Linked DNA regions of Homo sapiens: region 1 is linked to region 2. Evidence: promoter capture Hi-C in human tissues and cell types (Jung and others, 2019). All regions are on one chromosome and are shown on one strand. The core of a region is centred on a gene start or on the middle of the fragment in contact, and the rest is flanking DNA. Distances in the headings are between cores, read along the strand shown.

What was found. The method cuts DNA at HindIII sites, captures the fragments that hold promoters and counts their contacts. A contact is called where the count stands out against the background at its distance.
Region 1: a fragment that was not itself captured here is called in contact with the fragment with the promoter of PELI2 in region 2 in 1 of the 25 tissues and cell types used here (stomach).

Annotation. Positions count from the first base shown.
Region 1 is chr14:55,080,467-55,084,741 of GRCh38, reverse strand. LOC124903318 (a long non-coding RNA gene) reads left to right here. Exons shown (of 3, transcript XR_007064178.1): 3 at 1-10. Among named protein-coding and RNA genes, the nearest start is that of MAPK1IP1L, 31 kb to the right of the region's middle. The HindIII fragment of the contact is 6,384 bases long and covers 1-4,275 here.
Region 2 is chr14:56,116,566-56,120,993 of GRCh38, reverse strand. PELI2 (pellino E3 ubiquitin protein ligase family member 2) reads right to left here and starts at 2,583. Exons shown (of 6, transcript NM_021255.3): 1 at 2,257-2,583. The coding sequence starts at 2,333. RefSeq lists silencers at 2,106-2,175, 2,466-2,725, 2,766-2,825 and an enhancer at 2,956-3,195. The HindIII fragment of the contact is 5,780 bases long and covers 374-4,428 here.

The DNA.
Region 1 (4,275 bases), core at 1,164-3,663, 1.0 Mb after region 2:
ATTGCTGAAATGTTTGCTCAGTTGCTTCTGAATGTCTTTACCATGGAAAAAGCTGGAGCCCTGAATGATGAGCTCACCTGGACCAAGCACACATAGTTTGTCCTCCTTCAGTCTGGATAGTGACTTCCCTTCCTCCCACTGCCCCAGTGGCCTGACAGGATCCCATGTCAAGAGCATTGCCAATGCTATTGGGTCAATGTTCCAGCTTGGAACCTAACAAGAGGATAGGTTCATCTTCACTAAATTTTCCTTTTCTTTCACCTTCATTTACTCTCTTGTAAGTTGCAGGGAGGTGCAAATTCCTTTTAGGTCTCCCAGAACCAGGTCTTAACAGTGGTTATGACTTCAGGTAGTAAAGTCAAATGGTCCAGGATTTGAATTCTGTTTTTGCATCTACTTGTATGATTTGGCTTATGTGATTTGAGTGAGTTACTTGGGGAAGTTAATAAAAATAGTAGTACCTTCCTCCTAAGGTTACTGGGAAGAGAAAAGGAATGTCTTTCATGTAATAACTCTCAACTAGCATAGGGCTTGGCATATAGTAAATGTTCAAAAATATTAGCTGTTATTTTTTAAATAGATGCTCCGTTTATTTTGGAAAATTCTATTCTCTGATTTTTAAGACCATTTTATTGAAGTAATTGACATGCAGTATAAACTGAACACGTTTAAAGTATAGAATATCATGTTTTGACATGTATACACCCATGAAACTATCACCATAATCAAGTTAATGAACATATCCATAACCCCTAAAAGCTTTCTTTTTTTTTTGAGATGGGGTCTCGCTCTGTCACCCAGGTTGGAGTGCAGTGGTACGATCTTGATGCACTGCAACCTCCACCTGCTGGATTCAAGTGATTCTCCTGCCTCAGCCTCCCAAGTAGCTGGGATTACAGGTGCCTGCCACCATGCCCGGCTAATTTTTTTTTTTTTTTTTTTTGAGACGGAGTCTCGCTCTGTTGCCCAGGCTGGAGTGCAGTGGCCTGATCTTGGCTCACTGCAAGCTCTGCCTCCCAGGTTCATGCCATTCTCCTGCCTCAGCCTCCCGAGTAGCTGGGACTACAGGCACCTGCCACCATGCCTGGCTAATTTTTTGTATTTTCAGTAGAGACAGGGTTTCACTGTGTTAGCCGGGATGGTCTCAATCTCCTGACCTCGTGATCTGCCCGCCTCGGTCTCCCAAAATGCTGGGATAACAGGCGTGAGCCACTGTACCCGGCCCTAATTTTGTATTTTTAGTAGAGATGGCATTTCGCTATGTTGGTTAGGCTGGTCTTGAACTCCTGACCTCAGGCGATCCACCCACCTCGACCTCCCAAAGTGCTGGGATTACAGATGTGAGCCACCGTGCCTGGCCAAAGTTTTCTTATACCTGTTTATAATCCCCTTCTTTGTCCTCAGGTAACACTATCTACTACCTGTCTCTACAGATTAGCTTGCATTTCCTAGAATCTTACTTATATAATTGAAATAATATAGTATATACCCTTCTTTTGGCTTTCTTTATTCAGCTATGTTGTGAGATTCATTCATGTTGTTTAGAGTATCAGTTACTAAGTAGTATTCCATTTTTGGCTATATCAAAATTTGTTTGCCCATTTACCTATTAATGGACATTTTGCACTGTTTCCAGTTTGGAGATATTAGATATAAAACTTCTATAAACATTTATATATAAGTCTTTGTATGGATATACACAAATGATCTCTGACTTAACATTGATTCGACTTACGATTTTTCAACTTTACAATGTTGTGAAAGCAATATGCATTCAGTAGAAACTGTCCTTCAAGTACCCATACATTCATTCTGGTTTTTACTTTCAGTACAGTATTCAATAATTTACATGAGATATTCAACATTTTATTATGAAATAGGCTTTGTATTAGATGATTTTGCCCAATTGTAGGCTAATGTAAGTGTTCTAAGCACATTTAAGGTAGGCAAGACTAAGCTATGGTGTTTGGTAGGTTAGGTGTATTAAATGCATTTTCAACTTACGATATTTTCAATTTATGATGGGTTTATTGGGATGTAACCATATTGTAAGTCGAAGACCACCTCTACTTATATTTCTCCTGGGAGTAGAATGAGTGGGTCATTAGGTAGGTATATGTTTAACTTTTTAAGAAACTGACAAATTGTTTTCCAATTGGTCATGCCATTTTACATTCCCACCAGTAGTGTAGGAGAATTCCATTGTCTACATCCTCACCAACAGTTGGTACAGTCAACGTTTTTAATTAAATTAATTTTATTTATTTATTTATTCATTTTTATTATTTTATTTTATTTTTTTTGAGACAGGAGTCTCACTCTGTCACCCAGGCTGGAGTGCAATGGTACGATCATGGCTTACTGCAGCCTCAACTTCCCAGTCTCAAGTGATCCTCCCACCTCAGGTTCCCAAGTAGCTGGAACTACAGGCACATGCCACCACACCAGACTAAGTTTTTCTATTTTTCATGGAGACAAGATCTCACTATGTTGCCCAGGCTGGTCTCAAAATTTTGGGCTCAAGTGATCCTCCCACCTTGGCCTCCCAAAGTGCTGAGACTACAGGCGTGAACTACCACGCCCAGTCCTGTTTTTAATTGTATGCATTCTAGTAAGTGTGTAGTGGTATCTCTTTGTATCTCTCTCCCCAAGCCCTGGCAGCCACCAACCCACCTCTATAGATTTGACTATTCTGAATATTTTATATACATAGAATCACAGTATATGCAGCCTTTTGTGACTGGTTTCTTTCACTTAGCATAATGTTTTCAAGGTGCATCAAGTTATAGCATGTATCAGAATTTCATGTCCATTTATGGCTGAATAATATTCCATTGATGGGAATACCACATTTTGTTTATCCATCAGTTGATGGACATTTAGGTTGTTTCTACTTTTTGGCTGTTATGGACAATGCTGCTATCAACATTTGTGCACAGGTGTTTGTGTGGACATATATTTTCATTTTTCTTGGGTGTATATCCCTAGGAGTAGAATTGCTGGTCATACAGTAACTTTATGTTTAACCTTATGAGGAACTTCCAGGCCAGTGGTGAGGTTCAAGCAAGGGAAGGAGGAGGTTCTGGGTCAATGGTACATATTTGCTCTATTGGAGAGAAGCAATTGGCCAAAATTGTAGCTTGTCATTAGTCTGTTGAACAGCCATGGATTTTCATTACTTGGGCAGAGAACACATGAAGCCAGGCTAGATATCACCAATGGGTGACCATATTAAAGACTTGTGAATATTGGTATTTAATGTATCACTATTTAGTGCCCAGGTCCCCCTTATGTATGTTTATTACCACGTGTACTCTTGGTTCTCCCAGCTTTTTTCATCTATGTTTAACCCACACATTTTCTAGATGCCAATTACTGATTTATACTTGATATCTTATGAGTTCATCCCATTTCTTCTATAAAATAATTGAATATTTTGAAACTATATATCAAATGCATATTAAACCCTTCCCCTCTGTAATTCATTTCTGCATGACACCACACTTACTTTGTACACAATGCTGAATAAATGTTAAATAAAAAATAAGCAGGGTGGGACCTGTAATCCCAGCACTTTGGGAGGCCGAGGCAGGAAGATTGCTTGAGCCCAAGAGTTTGAGACTAGCCTGGGCAACATGACAAAAACCCATCTCTACTAAAAATACAAAAATTAGCTGGACATGGTGGCACACACTTGCGGTCCCAGCTACTTGGGAAGCTGAGGTGGGAGGATCACCCAAGCCCGGGAGGCGGAGGTTACAGTGAGCCGAGATTGCTCCACTGCACTCCAGCCTAGGCGACAGAGTGAGACTTTGTCTCAAAAAAAATTAAAATAAAAATGAGCAATAATCTCTGGTAGTCCTGCCATAGAAATAAGCAGTTATTCAAACAAAAATTTCCTGTGATTAAGTACTTGGGAAATACTGGTTTTTTGTTGTTTTTGTTTTTTTTTACTATAGGACTTGCTAGCCCCTTAATGTACTAATGTGGTGGTACTTCTTCATGAATGGATTTCACATTCAGTGTCCTCAAACTTACTGATCCATGGAACCCTTTACTCAAGGTGCAGCTCTAGAAATTGGTGTTGTATAAAATACACCTTGGGAAATGTTGCCTTGGGGATTGCTCTGTGCAAGGCCTTGGAAGTATAGCTGTTTACTACAGCAGCCATAGACTGAACAGCTGAACTGAAATTCCTCCGGGTACCTTTTATAAAGTATAAACATCCCACTTTTCTGGTTTGTTTTTTTGTTTTTTGTTTTTTGCTTTTTTTGG
Region 2 (4,428 bases), core at 1,334-3,833:
AATCTTCCTACCTAGTCACTCTTTCACCTGCACTCTTCAATGTGTTCAACATTGGTAAACAGTCAGAAACCTACCCTCGAAAAAAGAAAAATACCACAATTCAAGTATTCAAAAACCAGACTAGCATCCTCTACTCACATTTCACCTCCTCAGAGAGAACTTCCCTCACCTTCCAGCCGAAGAAACCAATACCCACCTAAGCAGTCACTCTCCAAGTTTATCAACTCCTCTTCAGAACTTGGCTGCACCTGAAATTGTCACTTATTACTCCTCTATTTGCATGTTTCTTTCTGTTTATGCCTGTCACTCCACTCTAAAAGGAAAGTTCCCTGTTCTCACTGCATCAGCAATGCCTAAACAGCACAGGCACAGAGTAGGTACACAAACGACGGTTGAGTGTCTCGCCCCCTAAGTGCCAACTATGTCATACTTTGGTCTCCTGGAAAAGCATTAGCAAAGGGCAGACCATATGCAACTGCAACGTTATATCCCGGGCTCCTGTGGAGTGAGACTATGATACTAGGACAATCCAGGGTTTCAATCCTTTCCGTGGCTTCGGAATGCCCTGCACTTCCAGCTATGAACACAAAACCTCTCCAGGCCCACTCGCTGCTTTTCTGAAACATCTCAACAATGATTTCCTCAAAAGGAAATAATGAAATAAAGTTCTGGCATACGTTAATCTTCCGCGTCAAGTTCACAGTGTTAAACACACTGAAGCCAGCCACACAAACAAAACCAAACTCCACAAGATTAGGTTGGGCTGAAGTTACATAAGACAGACTAAACTGCGGCTTTTCTCCTGTCATTCCTCCCGCCTTCCTGTGAACCCTGATATTTGTCTTTGAAGTGCAATTAAGATGTAGGTGAGAAAAACACTTATCTGCAAACAGCTTCAAAATAGGTAATGAGATTTCCAATACCACCCCCACTTAATGCACTAGCAACAAAGTCAGGAAGACTGGGAAGCTTTGAGTTGTGCGGTGTCTGGAAGCTTCCCTCAAAAACTCCTCTCTTTAAATTATTTTTAAGTCAGCACTTACTTCAAGGCACTCACTTATCAAAACACGTTTTGCAAAGTTCCCTGAGTCTTCCCACAGCCATGACTCCTCATATGTGTGCTAAGCCTACCTATCAGCGCCGAGGATGTTCTGAATACAGGTCTTTCAACGCAGAAGGACAAAAGCGCGGGTTCCCAGAGCGACACATCCAAAGGAAAAAATAATCCTTTCTTCAACACTAAACCCAAGTTGTTCCTTCCCCCCAGTTTCCTGCACTTCCCCCTTCCCCCTCCCCTTTCACTGCCCACTATATCCAGTTTTAAGCCCGCAAAGCCTCTCTCCTGGCTTATTAAGGGTAAACAATAGAAATGTCACAAGGAAACTCAGGAAGTAGATGAAGTCTCTAATTGCTGCCGTTTAACGATTGTACATAATTACTATCTTCAAGATGCGGCTTTCACCAGCAGAGAGGGAGCCGAGGCGGGCGAGGCTGGCGAGCTCCCCGCAGCCGGGAGGGCATCAGCGAGGCCGGGACCGGGGGGATACGGCCCGCGCCCCGGTGCCAGGCCCCGAGCAGCCGCATCCTGTCCCTCCCCTCCAGAGCACTCCAAGCGGGGAGAAGCGGAGGGCCGGCCGGCCCGGGTCACACACAGTTCACTGCTCTCGGGCTGCGGCGGCCCGCGGCGGTCATCGGAACAATTTGCAAAGCGCAGCCGGGGATCCCACAGCCCGCGGCGGCCCAAGCTCACGGCGCCGCGCTCGGAGTTCGGGGGCGCGGGTACCACGGTCCGCGAGGGAGGTGGGAAGACGGGGCTCCGCGCCGGCCGGCCTCTCAGCTTCGGGAAGCGACCCCGCGAAGCGCCCGCGACCGCGGCGCCTCACATGGAGTCCCTGCCCGCCCTCCCCGGCCCGGACGCGGCGCGCGGGAAGTGGAGCCCCTGCCCCCGCCCCCACGATACGGCCGCGGACCCGGTGCCCGGCGCTGCCCCCGCTGGGTCGCCCGAGTTCTGGCCACTTCCTCCGCCGCGTCCTCCGCGCGGACAGCGCAGCCCGGCGTCCGCCGCAGCACCCCGAGCGCGCGCCGATGGGGCGCATCCCGCCCCCGCGCCGCCGTCCGGGCCCTGAGAGCCTCTCCTGCCGCCCCGAGCGCCCCGGCGGTCCCCAAAGAGCACCGAGCCACCCCGCCAGCCCCGCTCCAGGATGCGGGCGCTCCCCGCCCGCGCCGCTGCCCGGGACCAGGGACCCCAGGACTCACCCGAGCACCACCAGCTCCCCGTATTTCACTGGCTCCTTATTGGGGGCGCAGTGTTCCTCCTGGCCAGGGGAAAACATGGAGCCCCGCTCGGCCGCCGACGCCGCCGCCGACGCCGCCGCCTCCGCCGCGATCCCCGCCGAGTCCGCGCCGCCGCTACAATCCCATCCCGAGAACGGGGTGAGCGCGCCGGGGAAGGGCACGGCGGCGAAGGGGGCGCGGGGCGGCCAGTCCCGCTGCTGCTCCGTCGTGGCTGCGCGGCTGCTCCGCCTGACTCCCCGGAGCTCCGCGCGCCGCGGCCGCCCCGAGTCAGAGCCGGCAACAAATGGGACCCGGCAGCAGGGGGACCTGCCTGCGCTGAGCGCCGCCGCCGAAGCCCCGCGGGAGGGAGGGAAGGAGGAGGGAGCGGGCGCACGAGAGGCTGGGGCCGCGCGGGGGAGGCGGGGGCCAGCGCGCGGGCAGGTGGGAGCCGCCCCGCCCCACGCAGAGCCAGGCGCCCGCCCCCGGCCCGCGGGGCGCCCCCTCCCCCGGCGCGTGGGGCCGTCCGCGCCCACTCCCCGCCCCCCTCGGCCCGGCGGAGGCTCGGCCCCTGTGTTATGTAAACATAGAGTAAAAGGGAAAGGAAGTTCTTAAAGGAGCAGCTCTGTTTTTTTTCCTCACTTCCTTCCCCAAACTTAGAGCGCGGGGTCCTCAGCCCTCGCCGCCTGGTTCTTCAGCCGCGAAGGCCCGCGGGAGATCCTGGAAACGAGCGGCCGCGGTTCCCAAGCCCACGTTTTCCTGGCTGGAGTTCGATGGGATTAACTTCCTCTCCGAGTAGAATAGCGCTCTCTCGACGTCACTGTGTCCCGGCTTACAACTAGAGGTGTCGCACACACCCACTTGGGTGCCTCCCCTTCCAAAACCAAGCAGAAAGGCGTCTAGAAAATTAGAAGGTTTTGCCAGTTGGTGCTGGCGTAGAGGACGTTTCGAAGGCGCTTGGAGCACCCCACCGTTGCACTGGATGTAGCTACCCCGGCTTGTGGTCAATAGAGCTCCACCTGGCTTTTGGGGGGTGGCGGGGGGATGGGGGAAGAGTTGTTTTTTAATCCATACTTTATCCACTTTTCCTGTGCCTTCTTTCCATCCCCTAATACATACAAGGGGAAATTACCTGGGTGGACTTTTTAGTGAACGTAAATGTTCCTTTATGACCGTGATTTAATCAATGCACTGTTTGCTTTCTATTCTTTTTAAACTAGTTATTGCTATGGCTTTAAAATATCGTAGACTGTATAGTTTTACTGACTGCTGTTTTTCATCATACAGGATTTTATTGTTCTAACATTTATTAAGCACTCATAATGTGCTAGAAACTCTACATATTATTGCGAGTCATTGCCTCTCAACACTGTTAAATATTTAAAGAAATAAATACTGCAGAAGCTACCCTGTGTATAGTGACTGGTTGGCTATGACCCGAAGCAAAGGGCTAGAAAAAATAATAATTGCATCTGTAACCTTCCATTCCGCTGTGCTGCACCCCTTGTGTAACATTCTCTGACAGGTTATTACGGTAGTGACATGATGTTTCTGATAATTTTACTTCAGTTAGGAACTGATTTTTTTAATTGAGGTTTTAGAAATAAATTATTCCAAAGTAACTAAAGCCACACCACTGGTAAGCCAAAAATAAACTTTATTAAACAGTTAACTTATTTCAGCTAACTATAGAAATTCTGTATTTCAAATGAATATTAGTTATTCTGCATATATTACGTATTCTCTATATTTTTTATATGTAATAAAAAATCTGTTACAGTTTTAACCAGCACTCCTTCACTAAAGGGATAAATCATGTCTCCTCCCCAGTGTTGATGTAAATTTCTTTCAAATTTCTGCTGGATTAATGTTGTCTTCATGTACTCTGTGCATCTACTTACCACATAGATTGTATGACTATCAAAGATCTGTCAGAATCATTCTGCAGTTGCGCCGTCACGATTACGATGATGCCTGCCTCTGTCACCCTAGCTTCTCTAGGCCTCCTCTGTTGCTGCTTCTGCTCTCTAGGCTACCATTACCTCCTTCCTTCTCTCTTGGCCTGCTGTGCCTGTGTGCGTTGCATTGCATTATACTGTTCTGGCTGCATTTCCTCCTTGCTGTGCTTCGCATCTGCTCTTAGGAAGATAGAAAGAA